Regions from separate parts of the Homo sapiens genome. Here region 2 is linked to region 1. The links are contacts of gene promoters, found by promoter capture Hi-C in human tissues and cell types (Jung and others, 2019). All regions are on one chromosome and are shown on one strand. The core of a region is centred on a gene start or on the middle of the fragment in contact, and the rest is flanking DNA. Distances in the headings are between cores, read along the strand shown.

What was found. The method cuts DNA at HindIII sites, captures the fragments that hold promoters and counts their contacts. A contact is called where the count stands out against the background at its distance.
Region 2: a fragment that was not itself captured here is called in contact with the fragment with the promoter of NCBP2 in region 1 in 1 of the 25 tissues and cell types used here (mesenchymal stem cells).

The regions. Positions count from the first base shown.
Region 1 is chr3:196,936,661-196,943,813 of GRCh38, forward strand. It overlaps NCBP2 (nuclear cap binding protein subunit 2), which reads right to left and starts at 5,868. Exons shown (of 4, transcript NM_007362.5): 1 at 5,766-5,868; 2 at 2,591-2,772; 3 at 850-988; 4 at 1-422. The coding sequence starts at 5,843. The coding sequence ends at 351. It overlaps NCBP2AS2 (NCBP2 antisense 2 (head to head)), which reads left to right and starts at 6,014. Exons shown (of 1, transcript NM_001355243.2): 1 at 6,014-6,883. The coding sequence starts at 6,057. The coding sequence ends at 6,356. It overlaps NCBP2-AS1 (NCBP2 antisense RNA 1), which reads left to right and starts at 3,217. Exons shown (of 3, transcript NR_046630.1): 1 at 3,217-3,467; 2 at 4,314-4,482; 3 at 5,733-5,874. RefSeq lists enhancers at 5,200-5,873, 5,332-5,571, 5,602-5,741, 5,792-6,091, 5,874-6,547 and 1 more. The HindIII fragment of the contact is 10,051 bases long and covers 1-7,153 here.
Region 2 is chr3:196,648,149-196,655,235 of GRCh38, forward strand. It overlaps NRROS (negative regulator of reactive oxygen species), which reads left to right. Exons shown (of 3, transcript NM_198565.3): 2 at 6,379-6,499. The coding sequence starts at 6,392. Among named protein-coding and RNA genes, the nearest start is that of NRROS, 12 kb to the left of the region's middle. RefSeq lists enhancers at 1-305, 2,604-3,369. The HindIII fragment of the contact is 5,100 bases long and covers 2,492-7,087 here.

The sequences.
Region 1 (7,153 bases), core at 4,618-7,117:
AGACTCATTATGGTAAAAACAAATTCTTACATTTTTCTGTCTTTCTAAAAGTGTAGTGGTTATGGCTAAAGACTAATCAACATTACAGATCCAATCTGTTGTCAAAGAACACAATTTCTGACCTGGTAACAAAATTGTTCTGATAATCTGACACATGGCCAAGATTCTCAGACAAGAATTAAAGGCATTCTTTTGGATTCTGTCCTTTAATAACTTTCAGAGGCTTCCAGCTCAGTAAAGACACTGATCAAATCTTGGTAAAAATGGGCTCGTGTGCAGACTTTAGGTGATGTTCTTCAGCAAATTCAACAGGCCAAAGGAGTGTTTGTCACTGACAGAGCTCTCACCACTCACTGGTTCTGTGCCAGTTTTCCATAGCCTCCTCTCCCAGCATCGTAGTCCTGCCGATACTCATCCCGAACCTTTAATGGAAAGAATCCAGAGTTACAGTATGGAAAAGAATGGTGTAACAAATATGCCTCCCACAAACATGTTAGACAAACAGTGAAACCTGTTCAGATGCCACAATGTGAACATTTCAAGCAGGACATATGCACTTCAGCTCACTTCAGTGCGTTTTGCTTTCATTTTAGATGTTCCTGCAGGTGGAAGATACCTAGCCCTAGCAGAAGTTCAAGAATGGTTGCTTGTTAGAAACGTACAGAACATACCATTTCACGGTTTAAAAAAAAAATTCACCCAAACCGTTGGGTGGTTTTCAGATCCACTTCAAGCCAAGGTTATAGACACAAAGTTATTTACAAAAGAGTAAATACAAATTGCCAAAACACCTGTCATTGTGACTGGAATCCCAGGCAATGGCTGAGCCCAGAGACCCTTCTTGCATACCTGGCCCCCAGATCGCCCACGGCCGTATTGCCTGCCCTCCTTAAAGCCTGCGTCCCAGTCTGTGCGAATGATTCGGTCATCCAGACGCGTCCCATTTATGTACCGCATGGCGTTTTCCGCATCTGCGCGTGAGTAATATCTTAAGTATTAAGGAACACTAGCATTTTTCCAAACATTTCTGGAAATAGGGGAACAACATGTAAATGAAGCTGAGTTGTTAAAAAGTACAAGAGCTAATCCAACCAGATGGAGTTCAAAGACAGTAATTCAGCTTGCCCAGGCCTGTTTGCGATTGGTTTGGAAGCACATAGAGTCAAATATGACACGTATCCATGGCTACACTGATCATATTTCTTGGACATTCCTGTTGATAATTTTTGGTCCCATCATCTCTGTATTTTGGTTTGCAAGTTTAGATCACTGTACACTTCTTATCCAAGAAACCAGTGCTGTATATTCAAGTTAGGTTCTGTACATTCCAAGGCACCCTAATCAAGAGAAGGTCACCGTGCACGTGGAATTGTGCTGCACTTCACTAAAGGAAAGACTCAAGCTGTCACCAAGGTAGCAGTTCCCAAACCTACTTCATCAGAGACCTCCCTTTAATTAAAGGGGAAGACATTTAATCTCAGACAAATAAAAATAAGACAACAGTGTTCTGAATAAACCATCTGGAGAAACTAGTATCTTTGATGTTAGCAAGCCAAAATAAAATCTCTTTTCATTCTAGCATTTGGGAAACCTGTGTATCCCCGAGGCAAGCCTGCAATCTGGGAGAGAAGCCCTGCCTGGGTCCAGTGAGTCAGCATTCTTTTCCTTAATTATGAGCAGAAATCCAGGGATCACCAGACACTTAAGGAAAAATTTCAACCGAAACAAACATAATTCAGGGCACAGGAAAAAATTCAAAAGATATATTAAATTGGGCCTGCAAAATTTCTCAGAATATTAAATTGAATGACCAAAACATACAGTAAAAAGAACATAGGATAAATCCAAGAGGTCCAATACTTAAAAGAGTCTGAGTAAGGGAATTAAATGATCAAAGTAAATAGTTTTGGTTTGTACCTATACAGTCAGGTTATATACATCTATATAATGAAATACTATACAGCTATTTACTTAAAAGTTTTTTTCTTTAAAGATGGGGTCTTAACCCGTCACCCCCGCTGGAACACAGTCACAACTCAGTGCAGCCTTGAAATCTTGGGCTCAACTGATCCTCCTGCCTCAGCTTCCTGAGCAGCTGGCACTACAAACACCAGCCACCATGCCCAGCTGTACAGCTATTTTAAAAAAAGACCTACATATGCTGAAATGGAACAATAAAAAATAAAAAAATGATTTTAAAAACAGCACATGAAATACACTACCGCACACCCACAGGGTTACTTCTTGAAAGACGCCCAAGAAACTGGTAACTGACTGCCTCTGGCAAAGGGCATTAGGGGTTTAGAACAGTACGAGATTTTTATATTTTCACTACATTCTTTGGAATTTTTTTTTTTTTACGTGAAGGGCAAACATTCTTGAAAAACTTTTTGTTAAAGAACCATAAAGCATGGATTTCAGAAGAGAATATAAATAGTATCAGCTTTACAGTATAAGGGCAGAGACACACTGGGTGGAAAGTAGGAGGGAGATGAAGGAAAACGTAGGGACGAGTGCAGGGACGCTTATGAGCTACCACTCTCAGCTCTACCCTGGTTCAGCAGCTACATTAGATCCATGGGAAGGATACTCCACAAAACAGAATCCACATGCTGTTTTCTTCATTTTATCCAGACCCATAATGATTTTCTTTATGTCACCACTTTTGCTGAAGAGTTCATAGATTTGTTCTTCAGTTGTGTAAAAAGAAAGATTTCCAACATATAACGTACAGCTTTTCTTCAGTAATTTTTCTTGTTCTTCATTGTCACCCTAGAATTTCAAATAGAGACAAAAGTTAAGCAACTTCAGAGCCTTGCTTAAATAGTATTTCTAAGTACGGTAGAGACATTCATTAATTCTGGTTTGGAAATCAACTTCTCTCATCCCAGCCTACCAGAAATCCCTTGCCCAAAAAGGGGGATGTCGACCTTCTGTGAAGCACTTATGCGAAGTCCAGACTCTTAGTAGAGACAGGGCTCAAAAGTTATACCACATACAACAAAGTCACTTCTACGCCCGACTGCCACGCAAGCGGCTTCCCTTTTCCCTGCACACACCATATCCTCAGCAGTGCATCCTTTAAACCCAAGTGTAGACTCTGGACCTTGACCCAATATATGACAAAGGGCCCTTTTATCCTTCGTAGTGAAAAATAAGTGGGTTTTCAGAGAGAGAGAGAGTTCCTCTTTAATAACCCCCTAGAGACTGTTGAAAGCCACAACCTTGATGCTTTACGTGCTCATAGATCTTTCTCTGAGTTTAGGGGAAAATGTAGTGATCACTAAAAACAAAACAGAGCTCACTTTCTTAATGGGCTTCCAAATTGGGATGACAGGATGAAGCCAGAGACTTAAGCATATAACTGGGCTTCATCCAACACACCTGACAGACAAAGCCCTGGGTCCAAAATGGCTCATCGGGGTCAGGCGCGGTGGCTCATGCCTGTAATCCCAGCACTTTGGGAGGCTGAGGCGAGTGGATCGCCTGAGGTCAAGAGTTTGAGACCAGCCTGGCTAACATAGTGAATGAAACCCTGTCTCTACTAAAAATACAAAAATTAGCTGGGCATGGTAGCAGCGGGCGCCTGTAATCCCAGCTACTCGGGAGGCTGAAGCAGGAGAATCGCTTGAACCTGGGAGGTGGAGGTTGCAGGGAGCTGAGATTGCACCACTGCACTTGAGCCTGGACAACAAGAGTGAAACTCTATCTCAAAAAAAAAAAGTCCACAGGACAATAGTCATTGTATGTTAAAAAGAGGTTTTCGGAACTTTGGAGTGAGACATTAGAGAAAGTAAATTCCTTTCATTTTACTGCTGTTACTGATTTGTGAACATGGAAAGGAGGCATCTTCTTTTTCTACTTTTCTCACACATGTAAGTAAGATCCAAATAAATAGCCTACAGTTTAAGATAACTGTGGTGTAAGTGCTTAAAGTATATTAATATGGATTCCATTCACAGAATGCTAGAAATTCCACATGACAGTATGGCATTAGCATCTAAAAAAAGCTACAGGTTTAGACTGAGGAGATGAATAATAGACAAAGTCAGAAGGTTCCAGTTTTCATCTCACAGGATGCTTTAAGTTCAAAATGGTCAGGATGTGGAACTGTCTAAAGTAGTAACTAAAAGTGGTAGAAGTGCAAATCATGCCTGGCACTTAGGCATCCCAGCACTTTGGGAAGCCCCAGGCAGGTGGATCGCTTGAGTCCCAGAGTTCGAGACTGGCCTGAGCAACACAGGGAGACCCTGTCTCTACAAAAAATTAGCTGGATGTGGTGGCGCGAGCCTGTGGTCCCAGCTTCTCAGGAGGCTGAGGTGGGTAGGATCACTTAGGCTCAGGAGGTTGAGGCTGCGTGAGCCGTGATTGCGCCACTGCACTTCAGCCTAGGCAATAAAGCGAGACTCTGTCTCAAAAAATAAAATACATTAACTGAATAAATTTTTTTTTTTTGAGAAGGAATATCGCTCTGTTGCCCAGGCTGGAGTGCAGTGGCGCGATCTCACAGCAACCTCCACCTCCCCGGTTCAAGCGATTCTCCTGCCTCAGCCTCCCGAATAGCTGGGATTACAAGCGCCTGCCACCACGCCCGCCTAATTTTTGTATTTTTAGTAAGACGGGGTTTCACCATCTTGGCCAGGCTAGTCTTGAACTCCTAACCTCGTGATCCACCCGCCTCAGCCTCCCAAAGTGCTGGGATTACAGGCGTGAGCCACCGTTCCCAGCCTTGACTAAATAAATCTAAGAGCTTCCCTAATTTAGCGTCAAACAAAATTTCCCTTTCCCTACTCTAGTAACACATTTCACACATTCTCCACACTTACCCTCTGCTATATGCGCCCCTTCCTTTCCCAGTCACAAGGGGATTTTTCCCTTTTCTGAATCCTCACTACAGGGGATTATGAGCTCGCAGAGCGCAGAAACTGTCTTCCCTCTCCCTCTAGGGTTTAGCACAAGGATTTGGCGACAGCACTCGATAAACGTTTACTAAATAATTGGGTTAATGAGTCCCGCCCCGCCAACCCCCAACCGTATTCCATCCCTACCTCCGCTGATACTGAAAAGTCTACTTTGAATATCTGCTGCCTCCCCTTTTTCCACAAAATATACTGTGATATAGTCCGGACTAAAAATTTCCCTCTTCTGAAATCCAGCAATTCTCCGATCTTTACATCCGAACACCCTCAAAGTGCCGAGCTTGGCGGGTCCACCTCCCCACTCCGAAGCTTCCCCGAGGGCGGAGTGAGGACTCCACTTGTGTCTCCCACGCACCGCGTACAGCTTCCGTAACACCATCCTCCCAGAGAAGGGGCCCGAATCGCCGAAGGGCACTGCTTCGCCGATTTAAAAAACAAAGCAAAAAGCCCCGCATCTGCATCAGGAAGGCGCCTCTGCCTACTCTGGGAGAGAGAAGGGCACCCCTCCCCCTTGCTACGTAGTCGTCTGCGGAGGCACAACCGTGGAAACGGGAGCCGCCACCACCACCACCGCTCAAACCTCTCGGCACTGGCTGGGGTACAGGGAGCGGCTGCGAGCGAATGGGATAAGCGAGCCTCCAGTTCCCCGTCTTCCAGAGCAAGTGGCTTCAGTGATATCCAAGCGCCCTTCCAGCACCCATTCCCTGCCTCGCCAGCAGGCACCGGGGCCCCACTTGGCGTTTGCGGATTTCAGCTGAATGGGAGGCGACACAATGAGACAAGAGCAAACCGTTTCTCAGCGTTCTTGCCCAGGGCCTTCCCGTCTCGCGGCCCGGCCTCCCTCACCCGGAAGTGCTGGTCCCGGTACTGGCTCAGCTCCACGTAGGAGTCGCTGCGCAGCGCCTTCAGGAGGCCACCCGACATAGTGCAGAGAAGCGGACCACAATGCGGCGACTCCCGGCACGAGGCTGCGTCCGCGATGGCGGAAGCGGAAACGCGCGGAGGCGAGCATCTCATTGGACCCAATCCGAGGGCGGCGTGTCGTCATCAAGCTGCGCGGGGGCATAGACGTCCGGGTCGGGCGCCGCGGGGCGGAAGACGAGGGCGGCGAGGTCGGGTTCCGGGCGCTTGGAGAAGATGGTGCTGCGGCGGCTGCTGGCCGCCCTGCTGCACAGCCCGCAGCTGGTGGAACGTCTGTCAGAGTCGCGGCCTATCCGACGTGCGGCGCAGCTCACGGCCTTCGCACTGCTGCAGGCCCAGCTGCGGGGCCAGGACGCGGCCCGCCGCCTGCAGGACCTCGCGGCTGGGCCCGTGGGCTCCCTGTGCCGCCGCGCTGAGCGATTTAGAGACGCCTTCACCCAGGAGCTACGCCGCGGCCTCCGAGGCCGCTCGGGGCCACCACCAGGTAGCCAGAGGGGCCCTGGCGCAAACATTTAATCCTGGGCTGTGCGGGGCCGAGGCCGCTTGCTTTTCCTTCCGGGCTCTACAGTGGCATCAATGTGGAGGGGTCATTCCGGGCACTGCGCGCGGCTTCGAATCCCGACTGGGATTGTTGGCCTGCAGACATCCCACGCATAAGAGCCTAGGCCAGACCGCCCGCTCCGTTGAAGTCTTGTGATTGGACAAGACACAGTGTGGAGACAGCCCTAAGCCTAACAGAGATGAAGGTAGGCTGGGTCCAGACACGGCACCTACGGAGAGCCACGGACCGAAGCCAGAGAGCCTTTCCTCTGCAAGTGGGACTGAAACTCTTGACAGATGCTGCTCAATCTGACTGGTATAGCAGGACAGTTAATTCCAGGGACGATATGGATGAAAAGACAACCCTACAGCTGCCAAATTCCTTTGATTAAATGTGTGAGCTGGTTGATAGGCATGAGTGTGATACTTCTCAGGCAAGATGTGTTAAGAATACCGGGGACTGTAGGCCTATGGTAATAATAAACACGTATTTTATGAAATGAGTCTTCTGTGCTGGGACTTGCTCATTGCACTCTATGTGTTATCTCACTCCTTACAACGACATTCACATGAGGAAGCAGATTACTTTTTGGATTTTTTTGTAGAGATGGGGTGGTCTCGAACTCTTGGGCGCAAGTGATCCTCCCGCCTCAGCCTCCCAAAGTGCTGGGATTATAGGCAAGAGCCACTGCGATGGAAACAGAGGCTGCTGCTTAAGTTGCCCAAAGTCTTGCAGAGTGGGATGTGAGCAGAGGCATTTGACTCCAGGGCCT
Region 2 (7,087 bases), core at 3,792-6,291, 290 kb before region 1:
CCTCATTTTTAAATGTGAGTACTTTAAAACTTACAGAAAAGTTTACAAGAAAGTACAATACTAAATTTACCGAGTAGTAATATTTTGCTTTACTGTCTCTATTGAGCCATTTGAAGGTAGTTTACATAAATTACGGACATCATGAAAGTTCCCTGTAAGTGCTTCAGCATGCATTTCCTAACAATAGAGGCGATGTCTTACATAACCACAGGCTTGTTATCCGACCTGCAGACCTCATATCATCTGTGCATCTGAAAACTCATCACTTAGTGCCTATTTAAATTTCCCCAATTGTCTCATACTTTTCTGTTAGAGATTCTTTAAAATCCAACATCCGGCCAAGCTCAGTGGCTCACGACTGTAATCCCAGCATTTTGGGAGGCTGAGTTGGGTGGATCACCTGAGGTCGGGAGTTCAAGACCAGCCTGACCAAAATGGAAAAACCCCATCTCTACTAAAAATACAAAATTAGCCAGGCATGCTGGTGCATGCCTGTAATCCCAGCTACTCAGGAGGCTGAGGCAGGAGAATCACTTGAACCCGGGAGGCGGAGGTTGCAATGAGCCGAGATTATGCCATTGCACTCCAGCCTGGGCAACAAGAGTGAAACTCCATCTCAAAAAAAAAAAAAAAAAAAAAAAATTCCAACATCCACTCAAGGTTCATTCACTGCACTTGGTTAAATGCTTCTTAGTCACTTGTAATCTAGAACAGACACCCCCAGCCCCACTCCAGCCTTTCTTTGATTTTCAAGACTGACTCTTGAGAAGTCCAGGCCAGTTACCTTGCAGGACGTCTTACAGCCCAGATCTGTCAGAGGCTTTCCTCATGACTGGATTCAGGGCAAGTGTTTCTGGCAGGCGTTCCACCAGGACAGTACCCTGTTTCCTAAGTCATCACACTCAGAGGCTCAGAATGGCAGGAGCTCTCACCACGGGGGTGTTGAGTTTGGACATTTGGTGAAAGTTGAGGTCATCCTAATGTTTTGCTAAGAATCAGAGGGACCAGAGCTGCTTGCTTGAGACTTCCCAGTGCTTCCTGGAGAAGGGACTGTTGGAAATGGTCACAGACTGGGGGTTGGTTTTGTTCTGTATCATCTGTTCTCAGTGGTCTGTGACCAGCTGCCCTTCCCATTCTCCCAGATCCCAGGTGCAATTGCTCTTTTTCTTGCAGTCAAAGGCAGACTCCCTTTCTTGTGGAGGCCTCCATCCGGCACCGTGTGCCCTTGTGTGTCCATGAGTGTCACTGTCACACATTTACCACTGCACCTGTGCGCACTCTGCCTCTGGAGAGCCCTCCCCCAGACCCAGGGAGAAATATTTGTTTCTCTCTTTTTTTTTTGAGACGGAGTCTCGCTCTGTCGCCCAGGCTGGAGTGCAGTGGCGTGATCTCGGCTCACTGCAAGCTCCACCTCCCGGGTTCACGCCATTCTCCTGCCTCAGCCTCCCGAGTAGCTGGGACTACAGGCGCCCGCCACCGCGCCCGGCTAATTTTTTGTATTTTTAGTAGAGACGGGGTTTCACTGTGTTAGCCAGGATGGTCTCGATCTCCTGACCTCGTGATCACCCGCCTCGGCCTCCCAAAGTGCTGGGATTACAGGCGTGAGCCACTGCGCCCGGCCAAAATATTTGTTTCTAGCACAGAGTGCCCCGAGAGCTGCCCACTTTCTCCAGGAGACCTCTTTCCGTAAAGCTTTTTCAGCTTCTCTGATTACTTTGAGGAGAAAATTCTTAACTACGTGGTAACATACGTATGGCACTTGCTCAGAGCCCCTTTAGCGGAGAGGGTCCGGTCCCAGCTCTGGCAGCAGCTGCTCACGTAGTAGCAGTCAGGGGAGGTGGGGGTGGGGACGGTAAGGTGTCCGAGCAGCTCCAACAAGGAGAGGCCGTCACTCTGGCCGGGATAACAATTCAGATATCCAGCGTGCACCTGAATAGTAGAAATCCAGCATCCTTTTCTAAAAACAAAACAATAGCAAAATTCAGATCTGAGCTACTCTGTAGCATTTCTTTTTTTAGAGACAGAGTCTCGCTCTGCTGCCCAGGTTGGAGTGCAATAGCGAGATCTCTGCTCACTGCAGCCTCCACCTCCCAGGTTCGATTGTCCTGCCTCAGCCTCCCGAGTAGCTGGGATTACAGGCATCCGCCACCACGCCCAGCTAATTTTTGTATTTTTAGTAGAGACAGGGTTTCACCAGGTTGGCCAGGCTGGTCTCAAACTCCTGACCTCAGGTGATCCACCTGCCTCGGCCTCCCAAAGTGCTGGGATTACAGGAGTGAGCCACTGCGCCCGGCCATTTTTGTATTTTTTTTAGAGAGGCAGGGTTTTGCCACCTTGCTCAGGCTGGTCTCGAACTCCTGAGACCCAGTGACCCCCCACTCCTTGGCCTCCCAAAGTGCTGGGATTACAGGCGTAAGCCACCGCACCTGTTCGCAACAAACATAATTTCTAAAACAAAGGAGACTCTTTGCAGCGGCTGTACGTTCTTCTTCCTCACTGTCAGCATTCTCTTGTTGCAGAATACAACCTCCATTCATGTTGTTTTTATGAATGAATCTTTTTACCACTTTCTTACTATGACCAGGTCTGGAGGCAGAAAACCACGTTGTCTTCTCTGCCTAAAAAGCAACACCACATCTTCATAGACAAGGTTGGCTATGGAGTAGACTCACAGCATTCCATGATAACTAGTTAGAATGCAGCAGTGTTCCAAATGGGCCAAACCTTGTCCAGACAGGAGCAACAGGCAGCTCAGGGTCCCAGGAACACTCACCAGCTGGCAGCCCCTCGGGAAGCGGCTGGGCTTTCCACCTGTTCCTGCATGCTGGGCACACTCTGGCTTAGATGCCCTCTTACAGCTGCAGATGCTGTGGCGTGGTCCTCAGCCCTGAGGATGTGGGAGGAGAGGAAGCAGTCCTGTGCATGCAGGGGATGAGTCACGGGATTTTGCAGAGAGATATGGCAAGAGGATTGTTTATCTTGGACTCTTTGCAGTGCCATGGCTCTGAGGAAGCTCTCTGCAGCTACACACTCTACGAAGAGTGTTTCTCAACCTCAATGGTCACTATTTTGAAAGCCTTTTATTTCTTTACAGTCATTACATACTTTTAATTTAGCACTGGGTCTTGGCCATTCTCACATGATTGTATTAGTCAGGGTCCAACCAGGAAACGGAAACTGCCCAGATTATTTAAGACAGAGGATATTTAATGCAAGAAAGTGGCAACACATGGTGGAAAAGGCTGAGAAAGCAAATAAACAGTCAACACAGCGACGAGCAGCTTCAGGAAGCTTCTTATCCTCACCTAGGTAGGGTGAGGACAAGAGGAGAAGGTGGGCCAGGCACCATGACTCACGCCTGTAATCCCATCACTTTGGGAGGTCAAGGCGGGCAGATCACCTGAGGTCATGAGATTGAGACCAGCCTGGCCAACATGGTGGAACCTCATCTCTACTAAAAATACAAAAATTAGCCAGGCGTGGTGGCGTGCACCTGTAATCCCAGCTACTTGGGAGGCTGAGGCAGGAGAATTGTTGAACCCGGGAGGTGGAGTTTGCAGTGAGGCGAGATCACAACATTGTACTCCAACCTGGGCAACAAGAGCAAAACTCCGTCTCAAAAAACAAAACAAAACGAACAAAAACAAAGAGGAGGAGGTGGTGTCACCAGAGCCTAGGGGTCAGCGGAAGAAACTCTAGGATGTCTCTGTCCAAGGCAGAGAGGAAGGGAGAGAAGTATGCTGGATTCTTTCTGCCCTCTACTGTCTGACCTCCCAGGAGGAGTGTCTTCCATTGACTAAACCAGCAGAGTTTGTGACAGGTGACAGCAGTTTGAGGCCAGGTGACAGCAGAGTTTGAGATTCAGAACCTTCAGAAGTCAGAGCCCTGCCACACTGAGGAGGGCAGGGAAGGGGAAGGCGCAGCTCTGGGGACAAACCGCTGTCAGCCAGCATAGTCATCTGTGCTCAGGGCTAGCCTTGCTCTGCAATTTATGAATGCAGAGTTTTTAATTGAACCTTCCTGCATATGTTTTACATATCTAGTTGGTATAATTCATCCTTCCAGCCACATTACTCAGGCCTTTATTTTAGACTTTGTGTAGCTGTTGAACTACCTTGGAGATTACACAGGAATAACCAGCACTCAGTCAACTCACTGGTGTTTGGAACTCACAAGTAATAATTAATAATTGTGTTACTTGCTACCTTTACAGCCATGAAGCCCTTTCACATTCATGAGACTGGTTATTCTCATGCAACTCTGGAATAGTTATTATTACTCCCATTTTGTAGACGGATTCTCTGAGTCTTGGAGACTTTGTCTGAATTCCTAAAGGACAAATAACAAATAACAGAGGCAGAATTCAAACTCTGGTCTGCTTGGTTCCAAATTCCATGATCTTCCCATGATATCCTGCTGCTTCCTGCCAGGGCCACAACAAGAGTTTTTTTCTGGGCTGGTTGGCTGAGTTTAGGAGGAAGGAGAGGATATGTTTTAAACTTGCAAAATTCTTGATGACCCATAAATTAAAATGCCCCTCCTGAGTGTGACACAAGGCCTGGCTTGCCTTCCAGTCTGAAGGTTGCCTTTTCGCTGAGGGACCTGCACTCTTGCCCCTTACACGTCTAGATTCAGTTCTTCGATACGCAGGGCTGGCTCTTCCAGAGAGACTGGAGTCACAGCAGCAGGTACCACCCCACACCTGACAAGAGGTGGCCAGGGAGGAAGGGAGGGTTCTTACCTCCCCATCTCCCCTCAGTAAAATTCAGGATGCCCAGTGAAGTTTGAATGTCAGATAAACAATTTGTTAGTATAAGGATGTATCTAGCATTGAAATGATGCCTTGTAATTTACTAAATCTGCAACTATGCAGCCTTATTTCATGGCGGGCAGTGGTGGTGATCCCAGGTTTCAGGGGCGGGGAAGGGTGCTGGGGGGATCCTGAGGTCAGGAACCCGTACACCTCTGCTTCTGCCCTCTCTTCCCTGTGCCGGCCACAAGGCAATGACTCCTGTGTGGGTGCAGAGGCAGAAATGGGTCTGGAAGGGGATTCCCAGTGTCTGGCAAGTTCTGGTAAATTCTGCATTGGAGGTTCTCTCTGTAGTAAGGGGAGTTGGCCTGGCCTGAAGTGAAAGCTGGCTTACCCGGTTTCATTGAGCTCTTCAATTAGTCTGTTTGCACTGGTGAGCATTCAAATCTGATCAAGAAGGTAAAATGAGCTTTCAAGATCCCTAAATGCATTTGAAGAAAGGAAAGAGGAGGCCCCTGAGTGGCTGGAGCGAGCAGGTGGGGTGAGCTGGTGCCGCTGGCCCAGGAGAAGATGGGAGGGCAGACACTGGGCCTCCGGTAGGTGTCAAGGAATGGGCAGATGGAATGCTGGGGCCAGCTCTTGCCTCTGGGTCTGCAGAATGCAGAGCTGGGGGCATGCACTGGGCGTCAGGTCCCCAGCAGGGCAGCAGTGAGTGCAGCCTCGCTGCTGGGAGAAACTGCCCTGCTCACTCATCGGAGCTCGGGGAGCGAGGCGGGGCTGCTCTTAGCCCTGCCACTAAGTTCATCCACAACCTCGAGTAGTATCTCTGGGCCTTTGTTCACCTGGCAAATGTGATGAGTATATTGCATTTCCCTTATGGCTCCCCTTAGTTCTGAATCTCTGCTGGTGCGTGTATACCTTCAAGCCTTCTCATTATTGCTGTTCTCTGTGCACTGGCCAGGCAAGCGGGCTGGCAACCACGTTTCGTTAACCACCTTTATTCTACCCAAAGATTGCTTCTTCATTTTCCCTCCGTGTTTCCCCCGTCCAAGCAAAATATCAAACCTCTTTTTTCAAAGGGTCATAGTCAAATGAGTGAACCAAAGAGATCAACGCTTTTGTAACAGCCCCACATCAGCAGCTGAGGAGTAACTCTGGGACAGAGGCCCCCATCCGTGTTTCCGTCTCCGTCCACTCTCCAGTTGTTCATTCATTCACTCAGCAAGTACTTACTGAGCTCAGGGGATGCATCAGACCGATTGGAGCTGGAGGCAGGAAAACTTCAGCAGAATTACAAAATATGGGAAACTCCAGGTGACTGGAGGCCTGGTTACTCAAGCTTTTTGCTTCTCCCTTCTGTGCTGGACTCGCTGAAGTTTAGTGTTCAGCCACCCGTCCATCAAGTGGTAGAGGCAAAATGAAATTGAGTTCTTGTCAACAGTTTCAGTGAAAGGCCGGAAGTCTTGGCTAAATGGAGGTATCTGAGTATCCTGTGGGCTGCACCTCTATGGAGCTCCACAGAGCTCCAAGACCACATAGAATTGGAACTGGCTCCTTCTGCCGATAATACAAACAGCCCTCTGGGATGTCCTTCTCTGACTTACCTCTTCCCTGCTCTCTGTCCACAGGGCTGCCCTTGAGATGGAGTTGCTGCCTCTTTGGCTCTGCCTGGGTTTTCACTTCCTGACCGTGGGCTGGAGGAACAGAAGCGGAACAGCCACAGCAGCCTCCCAAGGAGTCTGCAAGTTGGTGAGTTTCCCTTGAACCCTGATCTGTCGGCTGCTCCTGTCCTGACAAGGCTTGGTCCATTTGGAAAGCTGACAGATTGTCCATCAGGAAGGGCAGAGAATGAAGGAGCCTGCATCACTCTGTGCCTGCCTAGCACAGGGGCATGTGCAGCTGCCCTTTAACCACAGGATTTTAAGATGCTTCCTGGGAAGAGCCAGGCAGTCCCTGCCCCGCCGTTCTCACGCCTGCTGAGGATAGGAGGCATCCGAGACCAGCCTAGGGCATCCTCCCGGAACAAGAACAACTTGTTAAAAATCTGGATGATTCAGGCCGGGTGCAGTGGCTCAGGCCTGTAATCCCAGCACTTTAGGAGGCCGAGGCAGGCAGATCACTTGAGCCCAGGAGTTGGAGACTAGCCTGGGCAACATGATGAAACCACATCTCTACAAAATACAAGAATCAGTCAGGTGCGGTGGCACACACCTATAGTCCCAGCTACTTGGGAGGCTGAGATGTGAGGGTGGCTTGAGCCCAGGAAGTGGAGGTTGCAGTGAGCTGAGATCATGCCCCTGCACTCCAACCTAGGTGATGGGGCCAGACCTTGTCTTT